2 separate regions of the Homo sapiens genome follow, and region 1 is linked to region 2. The links are contacts of gene promoters, found by promoter capture Hi-C in human tissues and cell types (Jung and others, 2019). All regions are on one chromosome and are shown on one strand. The core of a region is centred on a gene start or on the middle of the fragment in contact, and the rest is flanking DNA. Distances in the headings are between cores, read along the strand shown. Region 1 overlaps LOC107984782 (a long non-coding RNA gene). Region 2 holds the start of RORA (RAR related orphan receptor A).

The links. Contacts are between HindIII fragments. The study calls those that stand out against the background at their distance.
Region 1: a contact is called between a fragment that was not itself captured here and the fragment with the promoter of RORA in region 2, in 1 of the 25 tissues and cell types used here (stomach).

The regions. Positions count from the first base shown.
Region 1 is chr15:61,657,437-61,662,913 of GRCh38, reverse strand. All of the region lies in intron 1 of LOC107984782 (a long non-coding RNA gene), which reads left to right. Among named protein-coding and RNA genes, the nearest start is that of LINC02349, 70 kb to the left of the region's middle. The HindIII fragment of the contact is 5,187 bases long and covers 1-4,267 here.
Region 2 is chr15:61,227,266-61,232,032 of GRCh38, reverse strand. RORA (RAR related orphan receptor A) reads left to right here and starts at 2,731. Exons shown (of 11, transcript NM_134261.3): 1 at 2,731-2,980. The coding sequence starts at 2,815. The HindIII fragment of the contact is 14,135 bases long and covers 1-4,767 here.

The DNA.
Region 1 (5,477 bases), core at 425-2,924, 430 kb before region 2:
CCAGGCAAGCTACTTAATCCCTCTGTGCCTCAGTTTCCTCATCTCTAAGATGGGAGCGTAATAGCCACTTCACAATGATATTATGAGGATTCAATGGCGTAGTATACATAGAGGCATTAAGGGTAATACCTATCCTATGATAAGTAATAAATGGTTGCTAATTATTTGGATTAACTCTCAATCTAATAAGACAAGCTTATTTTTTGAGCACTGATACGTGTCGGGCATGGCACCAAACACTACATAGGCATTATTACTCTTTACAACAACAGCTCTATGAAGCAGCTGCTATTATCTCCCTGATTTGCAAAGGATGAAACTGAGGAGGAATACAGTATTGATTTTAGTGTCTGATTCCAGAGCTCTTAACTATTATGTGGCCCTGTCCCCTTTACAGGACACTGCGTGGGAATTTCAGCAAGTTTTGATGTAGACAGGAGGTTCACTGGAGAGAGAGATATTTGGAACAAATGGGCTTTATAACAACCTCTTGAAATTACACCAACGAGATGATAACCCAATTATTGGGTCTTATGCCTCTTGAAGGGTCTGTAGTCTCTTGTATAAGGTCTAGGGTTTTGCTTTTTGCATACTCTTAACTCTTTTACCAGCCATTCCATGAACGTATTTTATTTTTTTACATCTTTGTAAAAGGCTATATAAGTTAGCTTTCACAGTCTACCCTGATATCCCGTGACTTAAACCCTCAACCATTTATTTAGCTCATGATTCTGTAAATTGGCAGACCAGGCTGGGCTCAGCTTTGTGATTCTTCTTTTGATCCTGGCTGGGTTATGTATAAAGTCAGCTGCCAGATCTGCTGGGGCTTGTTGGTCTGATAGGATATTCAGTGGGGATGATTCATTTGGTCTTTCATTTTTCTAGGGTGCTAATCTGGGTTTATTCTTGTGGTGGGAGAACAGTTCCAAGAACTAGAAGAGAGAGAACAAACCCCAGTGTGCAAGTACTTTTAACGTTTCCACATTTTGAAAGTCTGCTGTTGTCTCCATGGCCAAAGCAAGTCACATGACCACTCTGAGAGTCAGTGTGGGAGGAGGCTGCTGAAGGGAGTAATGCAGGCACATGAAAAACTTGGATGCAATGCAGGAATAATCTACCACCTAGGCTTTAAAAAGTTAGCCACAGTGGCTCTGCAGAGCGGCTGCATAGTCACAGGTTTGGAAGGATGCTGGAGGAAAGCATCTTTTGTTAAGTTGCACTGGGTACTCAGCTTTTACTTGGGAGCAGTTAGACACCTCTTTGGTGTGACCGTGGTATCAGATGGTACCAGAAGGTGGCATGACACATCAGGGACCATACACTCTTAAGTTGTCCCCTTCCCACCCTCCATGTCCAGCCCTTCAATCTAAAGGAGGACTCACCAGAGACAGCATTCTAGTAGCTAGTGAGGGCTGAGCTGTGGAATGACTGATTGTACTATTATCTTTACCTTATTATTATTATTTTTTGTGCACACAGGCTGGCATGGCCTGAAGAAAAAGCTGATATATCCATTAGAATTTATGCAGCACTTAAGATATCTCAATAAAGTCATCTGCAACCCTCTCCAATCACTATCATTCTAAAGGACCACCTAAGTTGATCTTGCTTACCCTTGAAATAAGATTGTGGTGGTATCACCCTACAAACTCACTTGGGTAATAAATTTCAGGCTTACATTCAATTTAGTTACCATATTAATGGTTTCTGTAGTTTATTTTTTGCTCAACCGTATGTTATGTCCCATTTTATTTCATGAAGAAAGAAAATGCTGTAGGGTTTTTGAGGACCTTAGTATCTGGTATCCAGCCACACACACATAACGATACAACCCATTACTCAATGCTGGCCATTCTGGGAAACACAATAAAGAGTCTGGTGAAAATAATTTTTCAAAAGTACTTCTTGTCCTCCTGTGATTTCAATATAAATGTCGGTATTATAATAAAATCCACCAGAACAGGAAAAATTCCTTAGCTCTTTGTAAATATCTTAAGAAATAGTATGATAATACTTTCATACCCTGAAACTTGGGGCTGAAAACAAAAATGTAATGATCGGATTCCATGGGAATGAGATGATGGCATCCATCCAGGCTCAGCAGTGTTTACTGCTGCTACTGCTGTGTGTCATCAAATTCTGGATTTTGATTGCAGTTTTGATGCCACAGACCTTGCGTGGAAAGGCCCCTTTTGCATATGCAGTTTGCTTACAGTTTCCATAGATACCTTTAAGGAGAGTTTGAGGATTTCAGGATTCAGTGCCCTAGGGACATGTTGTTGTTGTTGTTAAACCATCAGCTGAGTTCATTCCAATAAGCATTAGTATAGTTCCTTCTGGGCTAGGTTCTGTAGCTGGTTCTGAGCCAGGCATATACACAGCCCTGACCTGTGGAAGCTTCAAATCTGGTAGAATTCAGTGACAGAGGCAGGCCTGTGGGATGAAATAACAACTTTGATAAAGATACCAAGAAGTACCCAGAAGAGAGGAATACATTGTAGAGTGGGGAGGCAGGAGAACAGAGAGGAGATGTTTAAGGGGTATTTTGAAAGATAAACATTAAAGGACATTCTGTTTGACTTGGTGAAAACTGAAGATTAGAAAGCTTGAGCGGACTACTAGGTCTGGAGAGACAGTGAACTAGTTTTTTAACTACCTAAATATGCTTGACAAAACAGCTAGACTATCTAAATATACTTAACAAAATGTTGATATATGATAATTTTAAAATAAAAGTTAAGCATACCAGAAAGCAAGAGAAACTCCCCATGGTTGAGAATGTAAGGGGAGTAGGAGTCCGGAGAGGTAAGTGATGGTCAAAGTTGCTGAGTACCAATAAATTCCAGGTTAATCAAGAGCTCTGGCTTCAGTAGCTGTGCCTATGTGTAAGGGAGGCAGATAAAAAGACCTCACTCGGGAGAGAAGCCAGTGGTGTAATCCTGTGGTAAAGCTGGGACCGATGAAGGACAACATTCTCAGGGAAAGAGTGAACTGGAAAAAAATGTATATGCCAAAGAGTCAGATGGCAAAGAACCTTGACTGATTTAAACTGGCTATTGAAGGGTGGAGAATGTGGCAATATACCAGCTTTAACATAGGTTCAAGGCCTGAATTCACAGTGTTTGCATGGTCTAAATAACCACAAGCGAAGAATTCAAATTTAAAGCAGACTCAGCAGGAGTGAACACAAATTTCTAAAGGAACTCAGATTCGATTCATTCATAAAGAATTTTCATAGGCTGAGTTCCAGTGAGCATGAGCTCAGAAATGGCAAAACATACAAGAAAATAAAGCATCATGAGTGAGAGTCAACAGAGACAGCCAGTAACAGCAAATAATTACCTTGAGTGTTTAACATGTTTAATACATTTAAAGAAATAAAATAGGAAAGCAAAAATATGAATAAGGAGTGAAAGGCTATCAAAAATGACCTGTCATACCTGAAGAAGTACTAAATAGAATGTCTAGAAATAAAAAAGTAATTGAAATAAAAAATTCAGTGAAATAATAGCCCTAAACTAAAAAAAAGCAAAAATTCATCAATAGCAGAAGGAGTAAATTGTGATATATTCATATAATGGAACGTTACAACACAATGAAAAGAGAAAAATATTGCTAATGCAACACCATGGATAAACATCATAGTCAAAATATGAAGCCAAACAAGCCAGATACAGAGCATATGTACTATATGAGTCCATGTATAGAAAGTTCAAAAACAAGCAAAGCTAATCTAGGTTGATTGTGGTCAGAATAGAGGTGACCTCATGTGGTAGGGTGCTGTTTGAGAAGTGGCTAGAGGGAGGGCCTCTGGGGTGCTGGAGATGTTCTACATCTTGATACAGATGGTGGCTACATGAGTGTGTACACCTGTAGTGTCATCAGGCTGTCCCTTTAAAGATTTGTACTTGTACATTATGTGAGTTGTATCTCAATACAAAAGCATAAAAACTTAAATGGCCCTATCTTCCAGTTCCTTTGACCCCCAAGACCAGAATAGACACAGCCAAAGAGAAAATTAGTGAACTGAAACTGAGAGAAATACACAAAATTCAGCACAGAATGGAAAAGACATGAAAATGACAGAGACGTTAAAAGACAAATGAGGCAAGGGTGAGGTCTAAGCAGAACTCTAAAAGATATAGAGAATAAACAACTTCTAAGAAAGACTCAGATCCTTTGATTCAGGATATCTAATAAACTCCATGCAGGATAAATAAAAGAAATCTACACCAAAATGCATCACAGCAAAACTACAGGCCAAGGAACCTAGAAACTGCCCAGGTGAAAATAGAGATTGCCTACATAGGATGGTCAGACCAAGGAAGTCTTCTCAACAGTAATGTTGCAAGCTGGTAGAGTATGATGATATCACCAATGCCTTTGAAAGAAAGTAACTCTCAACCTAAAATGATTAACTGAGTGAATGAGGGCAAAATAATAATAATTTAAACATTAGGCAAACAAAGCAAAACTAAAAAATACAGATTTTTACTACCAACAGACCGTCATTCAAGGAATTGCTAAAAATGTACTCTTAAAAGAAAAAAATGATTACAGGACTGAGGTACAAGAAGGAATGAACAGCAAAGGAATATTAAATAGCAAGGTGTATATACAACATGGGAAGTATTTGGTTCTCTCTCTCTCCACACACAACACCACACACACACACACACACACACACACACACACATAAAATAAAGAACTAGAGTGTTGTGCAGGCAGGCAGGAGGCTTATGCTAAAGCAGGGCATACTGACTACAGTTAGTTGAATTGAAATGGACTCCCCCTCCGTATAAGTCTATTTTATATCATGAGTTGGGAGTTTTGTTACATTCCATGGAATTTCTAGAATTGCCACTGGACATTGACCTTGTTAGATGAATTAGTTCTGCCATATCTAACAATTTTCAATGTTCCCTTCTTGGTAGTTGTTGAAAATAGCAAGCCCATAATAAGATAAAGACAGATTTTATTCTTATAATGCAAGTAAAGCCTAGAGATTAATTAAACAGATTTTATTCATTTACATAATTAGAAAATTGTTTGCAACATCAGTCCTAATAAACTTGGATTTGTTTCACAAATGGGATGATTGGTTCTGGGATAAATATATGTCCTTTGCAAATACTTTTGATATTGATGGAGGGCATGGCCTCTTAAGGAGCAAATGATACAAATGCCTGCCCTTTGAAGGGTGCTCGGTGCTGTATAAACATTCAGTATTACTCTCAGTCACGGCGAGGTGAGTACAGCACCCTGCAGCGGGTGGAAAGGGTGGCTGCTGGCTGCCTCAGCTGATAATTCAAGAAACCATTTTCTTGGCATTCAGCTATCATTGTTGTAATGACAGACTGGTGGTTTTAAACCTTGACCTCAATTTTCTAGTTCTTCCATGACCCCACAGCTCCCTTCCATCTTAAACATTCCTTCAGTGGCCTTTAATTCCTTAGTGAATATTTTAACCTAAATAA
Region 2 (4,767 bases), core at 1,482-3,981:
TTTGAGGTTCCCAGTAATTACCTTAGAGTAGGAGAAAAGTAATGTTACCATCAGGAGAGGAGCCTGGGATTGGCAAGGAGGTAGGGGGCGATGGCTGTGGTGTTGCAAAGAGGAGTTACAAAAAAACTGAAATTAGGCTGATCTCTTCCACAAGCATAGCTTTTCTAAGCCATTTTCAGGGAACTCGGTGCAAAGTAAAATAACCATTTTTAAGCAAACACTGTTGCCCTTTGTCAATGAGCAGAGTCTAAGGAAGGCTCCCATCTCTTCAAATATTTGGAAAATTGGAAAGCCTTAATTAGTAATCCGAAAGGGAGCATGACGGAAGGAAAGAAATATAAACCTAATCACTGTGCTTTTCAGGTTTCAAATGCTTCCCCAATCCAGGTAATTTACACTTTAGTCACAGTGATTGACAGTCAAGGAATGTATCTAACTCACTTTTATTTTTTCCCTTGGGGAAAGCACTTGAGTTCCCAATTGTTTTAAATTGCAGAAGCAGTAATTGTCTTAGAGAGTTAGGAGAAATGGCTTTTTGGAGCTGCGATCTTTTTCTGAAGGGAATATAGAGTCTATTTTAATTGATTCAGGTCATTATGACTATTTTCTAGATGGTCTTTTCAGGGTGACTAAACATCACCTTAGTTAAAGGAGAACAGTAAGAAACTCATTAAAGGTCCAAGGGGAACAGACTTAATAAAAAATGTTAACAAGTTGCTACTGGTACCTAAAAGGAAACCAGGGATACTTTTTAAGTCACTTGCGTCCCAGATAGAATTACTGGTGAAATTTAATGTGACGAGTATTTTTTAAAGTATTCTAAAATAAACATGAGGCAGCCAATGTATTCTGAGATGCTCACTGTCCCAGAGGAAGTTGTTTCTTAAACTGTACACTTTGATATATTTGTTTCCTTAGAAAAGTCAAGTGTAACAAGCTAGGTCAATTGCATCAAGAACATTACTAACAGGCTAACCAATGGTAAATGTTGTGAAGGCTACTCTGGAAATCTGTGCTTTCACGTATGGGGAAACCCACACGTCTGATTTGGGATGGAGGAGACAATTGTGCATTGTTTGTAGGCGCCAACAGACAGGCTAAAGCCAGGGATCCTTGCAGAGACAGGATTAAGGTATCAGGACTGTTCACATCTCATTTACATCACCCCGAAGAGTGGACCACAGGTTTTGCTGATTAGTACACAGACTATGGCAAAGGGCATTGTGTATTTGAAATAAGATCAAGATCAGTAACAGTAACAGAAACTATGTGTGAAATTTGGCATATGGCGGTTCCTCTGAAGGATTAGCTAACTGGGTTTCCCGCACTTACTATTTTTTAAAGCATTTTTCCAAACCAGGAAGTTAGCAAAAGAAAAATGTCCCCCAATTCCCTCCGCCTACCCCACGTTCTGAAGCACATATATTTATGCCACCTTCTGGCCTCTAATAATATTATTTATTGTCAAAATTTTGGATCCTTTTGAAAGGAAGGTGGGGCGTATTTCCACAGTGTCTTCGCAGGCAAAAGAAAGTGGTAGATTGAGTATGAAGGCAGACAAATCAGGCTACTACCATTGGAGTATTTTCCATTCTTTCAATTTGTATTGTTCCTTCATCTTGGAGTTTGCAGTCAAGGTAACGATGATGCAATTATCTGCTTTCCTGGAGTTTTAGGTACCTACTAGGGGATGAATGTATTTCAATGGGAGGAGGGTGTAGAATGATGCCTATAATAATACGAATTATTAGGAGCTGTTAATTATCTGAATGTTATCCGGGCATTAGTAATGCCTCTCCAGTATATCTACCTTTTATGGATGAGACTGTACATTTAATAGGAAAAGTACCAGTGGGAATTGACAATTAGCAGCCACGCTTGAGCTAGATGCAGCGTGGCATGTTTTATCCAGCTTAGATAGTTGTCGACCAAACAGGCCAAAGTTTTCTTCAGTAGAAAATGCCCTGCCAAATGGTTTCTGGATCCTTCGCGGACAAACAGCAAAGGAGCTGAAAGCGACCTCTTTCAACCATGCCAGAAACTGTCCATGGCGCTTCTAGATTCACAAAATCTGTTTTAGACACAGATGTCTTTAACCAAGATTGGAAACCCACTGGCCGTCCCATCCCAAAGTAAAAAGTGCCACGTCCTCCCATCCTCCGCCTTCCTTGGGATGTCAGCCCCGTTCTAATTCCTTTTTAGTTTCTCCTCAGCCCTCGGCAGGGCTGGCAGGGGGCTACCTGCGATTTCCCAACGTGGACGTGGACAATCGGATTTGTCTCTACCCAAGCTGGCAGCGGATGGGGACGAGTTCTGTTCCCGAGAGAGTCTCAGAAGTAGGCACGGAATCATCTCACCGATTTTAATTTCTGTCCCTGGGCTGGGGAGAGGGGAGGATTGGGGCGCGGGAGGCTCTGTTCTCCTCCTCCCCTCTTTTCCCCACCTCCCAAAATTGGCAGCCAGTCTGTGGCTCTCGGTCTGGGGTCTGGAGGGTGGGGAATGTGGGTGTGGGGGCCGGCTGGAGAAGCTCTCGCTAGCGCTGCCTGTGGCCAGACCCGCCTCTTGTCCCCTTTCGGGCGCACACACACGTCCACCCAGACACTCCGCGCGCTCCCTCGCGCTTTTGCTTGCCCGCCCGCCGCCGCCTGCTTTTTCCCTCCTGCTTTCGCCGGTCGCCTTCTCCTTCTTTTTTTTTTTTTTTTTTTTTTTTTTTTTTTTTTTTTTTTTTTGGTACCATAGAGTTGCTCTGAAAACAGAAGATAGAGGGAGTCTCGGAGCTCGCCATCTCCAGCGATCTCTACATTGGGAAAAAACATGGAGTCAGCTCCGGCAGCCCCCGACCCCGCCGCCAGCGAGCCAGGCAGCAGCGGCGCGGACGCGGCCGCCGGCTCCAGGGAGACCCCGCTGAACCAGGAATCCGCCCGCAAGAGCGAGCCGCCTGCCCCGGTGCGCAGACAGAGCTATTCCAGCACCAGCAGAGGTAGGAGGCTGGAGAGGGGCTGGGGAGGGGGCGGCGGGAGCCCGGGCGCGGAGCGGGGGGCGGCCGGGAGCGGGCGCCCGGGGCGCGGGGTCCGGCGGCCGCGCGCGAGCCTGCGGCGGCGCCCCGAGCCCGGAGGACCCCCCTCCCCTCCCCCCTCCGCCCCCCAGAAATGTTGCAAACTTTTGCAGCCCGTTCTCGGCTTGCGGGAGCAGAGTGGGGCGGGGGAGGCGGCGGGAAGGTTGACAGCCGGCGGGCTCACCCCCCTGGCTTTGATTTTTCTGCAAACACTGGAGGAAAGCTGCGTTGCCTCAATTAAATACGCTCCCCCAAAATACGGAGATGCGGGGAGTGGGGGCCCGGGAAAGAAACTTTTAAAGCGGCAGTGTCCTTTTAAGAAGGGGCAAAAAAATCTGTTTATGGCCACCCTCCTTCCGCTTTACCTTTTCTCCTCTTGACAGTTTCGGCCCTGGCTGCCCGAGTCGGGGGTGTGTTTTCGGTCCCTCTCAGATCTGGGCGGGGGGCGGGAGGAGTGAGCGACCTGGGAAGTCCCGGGGGTGGAGAGGGGGCGCTCCGGGGTCTGGGGGCGACGTGGACACCTTCTTTGGAGCACGGCGGTGCGTTTGGGATTTGAAGGAAGGGCCGAAGGAAGCGGGGTGCGGGCGGGCGAGCTGTTCGCCAAGTTGTCTGGCGGGCGCGGCGAGGGGAGATGCGCAAGTTTGCAGACCGGGGGTTCGGAGCCCGGCGCCCAGGCTGGCGGGGGGCGTGTGCGCGCCAACGCGCAGAGGGCGGCGGTCCTGTGGGGCGCTCCACGCGCATCCGGAGGGAGCGTCTACAAAAGCAAGCACCGAAACTTATTTCTGCTCTGGGAATCCTTCCCTCTCGGAGGTTCCAAGCATTTCTGCAGGAACCTGGGGATGGTCAGTGCAAGTTGTATGCTGGTTGGATAGTGCAAGCAATGTTTTCTCCTCCCCTGGCGATTTTTACTCTTCATTTTGGTGTTTGGTCTGTGTCTGCGTGTGTTGGGGGGGATGGGGGGGACTCAGTTGCTCCCTCCTTTCCTAAAGTGAGCTGTTGAGGAAAGCTCACTCTTTCTTGAAGGTATTGGAACCTGATGTGTGTTTTTCTCGAGAGTGGGGGATTATTTATTTGAATGCGCCTGGAGTTTGCAAAGAACAGGAGGAAGCTACAGCTTTAATTACTGTTGTAAATAATGTATAAATCGCGCCTGTCACTCCGGAGGAAGCGTGCTCGCGCGAGCCGCCTGGAGCTGGGGACGGAGAGGATTTCTCCAGCCCCGGCTTGGGTACCGGCCCAGCGCGCCCCCTCCTCTTGCACTCGGCTTCTGGCGGCGGTTGGGGAGGGCTGGGTAGAGGCGAATGGGGGCCCCAGGAACTGCTCCCTTCCTCTCGATGTTGTAGTTGGAGGTAGGAATATGGCTGATCATGTGCTGGCTGTTTTACAGTATCCCCCCCCCCACCTTAGCCACACCCCCTGTCCAGGCGCTTTCCCATTCACGGAATTCGAGTACAGTAAAAGCCATCAGGATGACACACGCGAAAAACATTTAATTAAAGGCGATTTCCAAAGGGTGACCGCGGCGAACCGCGGTTTCAGCGGGAGGGGGGCGGCGAGGGCTGGGACAAAAGGGAAGGGGATGAGGGCTGGGGGCCTGGACCTGCCGCTAGCTCGGTGAGTTTGTGTGCGGGGAGCTTTTGGCTGCAAAGAGTATATTTAGACCCTGAGACGGTGGATTTGGAATGCGAGCGGGTTATGTAACAGGGTTAATC